Linked DNA regions of Homo sapiens: region 2 is linked to region 1. Evidence: promoter capture Hi-C in human tissues and cell types (Jung and others, 2019). All regions are on one chromosome and are shown on one strand. Each heading gives the region's core, a stretch centred on a gene start or on the middle of the fragment in contact. The rest is flanking DNA. Distances are from core to core; before and after follow the strand shown.

Region 1 (3,467 bases), core at 697-3,196:
AACAGACAGCTTTGGAGGGCATCTATCAACTGAGTCTACTATTCTCTTCCTTCTCTGTATTCTCCACTTCTTTCGAGTCATCGCATATACTGGTACATTCATTCTTTTTTTCCATTCAATAAACATTTACTGACCTGCACTATCCAATACAGCAGCCACTATCCAAATGTGGCTATTTAAATTTATTAAAATTAAGTCTGGGCTGGGCCTGGTGGCTCAGGCCTGTAATTGTAGCACTTTGGGAGGCCGAGGCAGGTAGATCACCTGAGGTCAGGAGTTCAAGAGCAGCCTGGCCAAAATGGTGAAACCCCTTCTCTACAAAAATAAAAAAATTAGCCAGGAATGATGACGGGTGCCTGTAATCCCAGCTACTCAGGAGATTGAGGTGTGAGAATGCTTGAACCCGGGAGGCGGAGGTTGCAGTGAGCCCAGCCAGTGCCACTGCATTCCAGCCTGGGCGACAGAGCAACATGCCGTCTCAAAAAAAAAAAAAAAAAAAAAATTTGAGTCCAACAAGAAATTCAGTTACTCAATTGCACTAATCACATTTCAAATGCTAACTAACCACACTTTTTTTTTTTTGGGGATGGAGTCTCGCTCTGTCACCCAGGCTGGAGTGCAGTGGCGCAAACTCGGCTCACTGCAACGCCACCTCCCTGGTTCAAGCAATTCCCTTTCCTCAGCCTCCCAAGTAGCTGAGATTATAGGCGCACACCACCACGCCCAGATAATTTTTTTTTTGTATTTTCAGTAGAGACGGGGTTTCACCGCGCTGTTTCAGGCAGCTTAGGTAGTGATGGTGGCCACACGAATGAAAAATCTGAGTCCTTGACCTTGAGGAGCTTATGGTCTAGTGGAGGAAAAAGAAAACATCCCACCCAACATTATTCATTAAGAACTAGCGCTTACGTAGCTCCTTCTGTAAATCGAGCAGTTTGTGTTTTTTTTTCCCCAATAATCCTTTTGCCCTCCTAAAATCAGGCAGTTTGCTAAGCACTTTTTGTGACTATCTGGTTCCATCTTCTTAACACCATCGAAATAGGTGCCATTATTATGCCCACTTTGCAGACAGGGTCATAAGTTAAATAATTTGCCCAACCTAAGTAACAAATACTGAGTAGAGCCACAAAGGAAGATGTGCTCAACTCCGCCTGGGGAGGTTAAGGAAGGTTTGAAGCAAGAAGGGACTAAAACCCGTTTGTCCACACCATGGTTACTGAACGTGTGGGCCACCGACTACCTACGTTAGGATTACCTGGGGTGCTCTTTTAAAAAGTGCAGATTCCCTGCATCCCAATTTGAAGCTCTGTGGGCGGGGCCTGGGAACCTCCGTTTATAACAAGATCCCCACCCCGGCCCCCGCCCCAGCAATTCCTTTCGGTTCACTAACCGAGGTTTAAGAACCAATGGTCCACACCGCATGGTTCTCTTTATTCAGCTTTCCCTCGCCGTTCCCTTGCCTTTAACCTCACTACGGATCGCGATTGGAGTCCGCGCTGCGTAACCTCGGGCCAGCCTCTCCGAGCCTCAGTTTCCCCATGCGTAAAATGCGGAGCCCGGGCCCGCGGAGCCGCTGCCCGGCGGCCCCGCCCGTCAGCCGACAGGCGCACAGTGGGCGCTCCCCAAACGCGGCCCCCGTCCGGCCGCCCGGGTCCCGCCCCTCTCGGCCAGCCCAGGTTTCCTACCCTTGCAGATCTGCTCCCACAGATTCTTGCTTGACGGCTCGGTGACCTGCCACGACGAGACAGGCAGCTCGCGGGACGCGAGAGACACGGTGGGCACCGGCGTCCGGGTGAACGACGAGTCTGTAGAGCAGCTGGGCTTGAGGCGCACTATGTGGCTGGGGATTTGCCGCGGTGCCGCCATGGCCGCGGTTTCCACGGTAACCGCGTTCGCCGGAAGGCCGCGACCCGGAAGAAGCCGGAACCCGAGAGGGTGGGCCGGCGACTCGAAGTGGACTTCCGGGTCACGGCGGAGCTGGCTCTCACGTGGAGGCGGGGAAATTTCGCCCACCGGTGAGTGCCAGGGCGCGTTGCAGGCGGGCCGGCGCGGGGTGTGGAGATTGCACCAGAGGAAGTGCGCGGCGGGGAAGATGGGGAAATGCGGTCCACCCACATCCCTGAATCCGACCCCTCCAGTCGGTGTGCGCCCGCTCCGGCCTGAGGCCGCCGCCTCCAGAAAGTTTTCCCGCCTCAGAGCCGGCCCTGGGACCCCACGTAATCCCTCCCAGTCTGTTGATGCGGAGGCTTGGGCCCATGGGAGCCTTGGAGGTACGGATCTTACTTCCTGGCTCCCGCGCGTCCTGCTGGTGATCCTGCCGGGGGAGTGGGGTGTTGCTGCACAGGCTTTGGAGTCCTGTGGGCGGAATTCCAGTCTCCGTTTTCCACTTGCTGGCTTTGGAACCTAGGGCAAGTGAATTATTGTAGTCTCTGGAGCTTGCGAGGTCGGGTATTCACAAAGATCTTCACAAGGCTGTCCCTGGAATTTAAAAGCGGTTTTGGAGAAAGCGTTTGCGTTTGCAGGAGATGCACTGTAACGTTCTTTTCCTTTCTCCTTGAAAGAGTGAATGCATTTGGTCGCAGGGCTAAAGAGGAGGATGCTATACTTTTCTAAATGGCAAGAGATGGGGAGAGAAGGGGATTAAGAGTTGACCCGCAACCTCCCGGTGGATTCTTTGTTCTTACCAGATCTCTTGGCCACTCCCCTATTCTGAAGTCGTCTTGGCTCTCTTGACTGCTCCCCTATTCTGAAGTCGTCTTGGCTCTCTTGACTGCTCCCCTATTCTGAAGTCGTCTTGGCTCTCCTGACTACACTATTTCAAGGTTTGCACCTTCTTCTTTGCAAGCTCCTTTATCTCTGCCCACTTATTTAAATGCCAATACAATAGTCCCCCTCCCCCATTATCCGCGGGCAGTACGTTCCTAAACCCCCAGTGGATGCCTGAAACCACAGACAGTACCGAACCCTAAATATAACTGTTTTTTCTTGTGTATACTATCTATGAGAAAGTTTATAAATTAGGCACAGTAGGGCCGGGCGTGGTGGCTCATGCCTGTAATCCCAGCACTTTGGGAGGATGAGGCGGGCGGATCACCTGAGGCCAGTAGTTGGAGACCAGCCTGGCCAACATAGTAAAACCCCGTCCCTACTAAAAATACAAAAATTAGCCGGGCGTGGTGGTATGTGCCTGTAATCCCGGCTACTCGGGAGGCTGAGGCGTGAAAATTGCTTGAACCCGGGAGGTGGAGGTTGCAGTGAGCCGAGATGATGCCACTGCACTCCAGCCTGGGCAACAGAGCCAGACCTTGTCTCACAAAAAATTAGGTGCAGTAAACGATTACCAACAATCTAGCTAGTAATAAAATAGAACAATTACAACAGTATACTGTAATAAAAGTTGCATGCATGTGGTCTCCCTCTCAAGATAACTTCCTGTACTGTGCTCACCTATTTTGGGACCAGGGTTG
Region 2 (3,467 bases), core at 417-2,916, 200 kb before region 1:
CCTCCCGACCATAGAGACAGGGCTGCCACGTACAGCCTCACAGGATGCACACTGCACAATTTCAGAACGTGACATTCACATATGCTATTATTTAACTGGTATTCTCTGGATTTGTGCAGTGCACAACCTAGGTAACTATATACAGTTTCCCTGCCCATATTTCCAGTAGTTCAGCGGGGAAGATAAATTAAACAAAGCAGTATATATTTATTTTCATTGGAATCAGGGCAATTAAAAAAAAAGAACCATGTTGCTAAAAGAGAGAACAAATAGACAGATCTATTTTGAGTTTCACATAAGCCATTCAGAGAAAGTGATATTTATATACATTTATTTATTTATTTATTTATTTATTTATTTATTTATTTATTTATTTGATACAGAGTCTCATTCTATTGCCTAGGATCCAGGGCAGTGGTGTGATCACAGCTAACTGCAGCATTGACCTCCCAGGCTCAAGCAATCCTGCCTCAGCCTCTCAAGTCGCTGGGACCACAGGCACACACCACCATGCCCGGCTAATTTTTGCGTCTTTTGTAGAGACAGGGTTTCGCCATGTCTATCAGGCTGGTCTTGAACTCCTGGACTCAAGTGATCCACCCTCCTTGGTCTGCCAAAGTACTGGGATTACAGGTGTGAGCCACCACACCCAGCCAGAAAGTTATATTTAAACCAAGACCTGGTATTTGTCAGGAATTTTATTTAGTTGATAGTAACAGAGGCTGGACTTAGTAGCTTTAGTGAAACAGAGCTTCTTTTTTCGCTTGTTCCACAGGAAATCAGAAAGTAGGCAGCCCAGGACTGATTTGGGAGTTCCAGCAGTTATCAGGACCCCAGCCTCCTTCTGTCTTTCTGCTCCATACCCCTTAGCATGTGGTTTTCATCCTCAAGGTTGTCTCATGGTCCAAGATGGTTGCCAGAGCTCCAGCCACTACATCTGCCTCACAGACAACAACATGGGACAAGGACATTAGAGACATAAGGGACGCCTCCCCAGTCCACTTAAGGAGCTGACCATAAGTTTCACAAAATATTCCACATCCATCTCATTGGCCCAAAACTAGTTACGTGAATATCGCACGCTGGAAGAGAGGCTGGGGCATGTGAGCTCTAAAGAGTTGCCCAGGGTTTTATTACCAAAAAGGGGAAATTATGATTGAGAGGTAATACGTAGCCCCTGTTATGGACTGGGAGAATAAACGGGAGATAATTAAGTGAAAGTGTTGTGGGGAGCAGGTTCCAGGCAGAGGGAATAGCAAATACAAAGGATCCAAGAGAAGGAGGTTGGGCCGGGGCACAGCGGTTCACACCTGTAATCCCAGCACTTTTGGAGGCCAAGGCAGAAGGATCGCTTACGCCCAGGAGTTTGAGACCAGCCTGGGCAACATAGAGAGATCCCGTCTCTACAAAAAATACCAAAATAAATAAATAAATAATAGCCAGCCGCGGTGGTATGTGAATAAAAATAAAAATAAATTTAAAAAATACTCTGTTGCCCAGGCTGGAGGGCAGTGGTGCAATCATGGCTCACTGCAGCCTCGACCTCCTGGGCTCAGGTAATCCTCCCATCTCAGCCTCCTGAGTAGCTGGGACTACAGGCACATACCACCATGGCTGACTAATTTTTCAAAAATAAAAATAAAAATATTAAAAAATAAAATAAATTTTAAAATATTCAAAAATAAAAATAAAATTTAAAAATATTTTTGAATATTTTAAATATAGTGGGCCGGGCGCGGTGGCTCACGCCTGTAATCTCTGCACTTTGTGAGGCCGAGGCAGGTGGATCACCTGAAGTCAGGAGTTCAAGACCAGCCTGGCCAACATGATGAAACCCCCTCTCTACTAAAAATACAAAAACTTAGCTGGGTGTGGTGCCACACTCCTGTAATCCCAGCTACTCAGGAGGCTGAGGCAGGAGAATCACTAGAACCTGGGAGGCAGAGGTTGCAGTGAGCCGAGATTGCACCACTGCACTCCATCCTGAGCAAGAAGAGCAAAACTGCGTCTCAAAATAAAATAAAATAATAAATAAATATATATATATTTAACGAGCGAGATTCCATCTCGAATTTGAATATTTAAAATATTCAAAAAATTATATTTTAATAAAATTAAAAATAATTTTTATTTTATTCAAAAATAAAAATAAATTAAAGAAATAAAAAGAAGGAGGTTGGTCTGTTCTCAGAACTGAAAGGAGACCAGCATGGTTGGAGCACATTCAATGGGAGAAGATGAGGAACCAGGGGAAGGAGAAATACCCAGGCTCGCAGGCACATCAGCAAACCCAGCTGCATGCCTTCCACTCTGGGCGAAGCCTTGGCATCAAACAGACCCATGTTCATATTCTAACATCACCTTTTACAACTGAGAGCCCTCAGGTAAGTCTTTTAACTTACCTGAGCCTCCACTTCCTTACCTGTAAAACAAGAATTATACCTGTATGATTTCTTATTTGAATAAGAATTTGAATAATAGATTTCTTATGTGAATTAAATGAGATAATGCATATAAGGAGGTTAGCACAGCGCCTAACACATATTGAGCACACAGTATTATTGATTCGCTACACATTGACCATGAAGACTTACGTGATTGTGGCCTAGTCAAGAGTCAAGGTTGTAACTCCAGGCTCGAGCAAATTCACTGGCTTAGTGCTTAAAAGTTAGTCATAGTTAGTGCTTAACGTAAAAGTTGGGTATGGGACAGGCACAGTGGCTCAAGCCTGTAATCCCAGCACTTTGGGAGGCTGAGGCAGGCGGATCATTTGAGGTCAGGAGTTCGAGACCAGCCTGCATGGTGAAACCCCACCTCTACTAAAAATACAAAAAAAAATTAGCCAGGCATGGTGATGCATGCCTGTAATTCCAGCTACTCAGGAGGCTGAGGCACAAGAATCACTTGAACCCAGGAGGCAGAGGTTGCAGTGAACCAAGATCTCGCCACTGCACTCCAGCCTGGGCAAGAGCAAGATTCCATCTCAAAACAAAAAAAAAACAAAACAGAAAACAAAAAAACAATAGCTGAGTGTCACGGGGCATGCCAGTAGTCCCAGCTGCTCAGAAGACTGAAGCTGGAGGCTTGGTGGAGCCCAGGAGTTTGAGTTCATCCTGGGCAACATAGCAAGACCCTATCACAAAAAAATAAGAAGTAAAATAATAATAATGCAAAATAAAACATCTTTTAAAATGATAGGTGTTACTATTGTGGCTCTTGGTGAGGACAGCAGATGGCTCATCAGAATTTCTTCCAGAGCCTCTCTTGGCCTCCCCACCGTGCCAGGCAACCACGGAAACATTCAGTCTTCAGATTACCAACCTCAACTGCAAACTAGAAAGGAGGGTCCCAGAATGGAAAGTGCCACCCTAAGAATGGAAAGTGCCACCCTAAATTGCAAACAGACCCCCCGGGTGCCAGGCGAGAGCCTCAAACACGCTCTCTACTTTGCTCAGGCTCTCGGAGTC

The links. The method cuts DNA at HindIII sites, captures the fragments that hold promoters and counts their contacts. A contact is called where the count stands out against the background at its distance.
Region 2: a fragment that was not itself captured here is called in contact with the fragment with the promoter of KNOP1 in region 1 in 2 of the 25 tissues and cell types used here (adrenal gland and dorsolateral prefrontal cortex).

Annotation. Positions count from the first base shown.
Region 1 is chr16:19,716,706-19,720,172 of GRCh38, reverse strand. It overlaps KNOP1 (lysine rich nucleolar protein 1), which reads left to right and starts at 1,946. Exons shown (of 5, transcript NM_001012991.3): 1 at 1,946-2,015. IQCK (IQ motif containing K) reads right to left here and starts at 1,902. Exons shown (of 9, transcript NM_153208.3): 1 at 1,686-1,902. The coding sequence starts at 1,866. RefSeq lists an enhancer at 1,693-2,022. The HindIII fragment of the contact is 15,091 bases long and covers 1-3,467 here.
Region 2 is chr16:19,913,743-19,917,209 of GRCh38, reverse strand. No RefSeq gene overlaps it. Among named protein-coding and RNA genes, the nearest start is that of GPRC5B, 31 kb to the right of the region's middle. The HindIII fragment of the contact is 7,764 bases long and covers 1-3,467 here.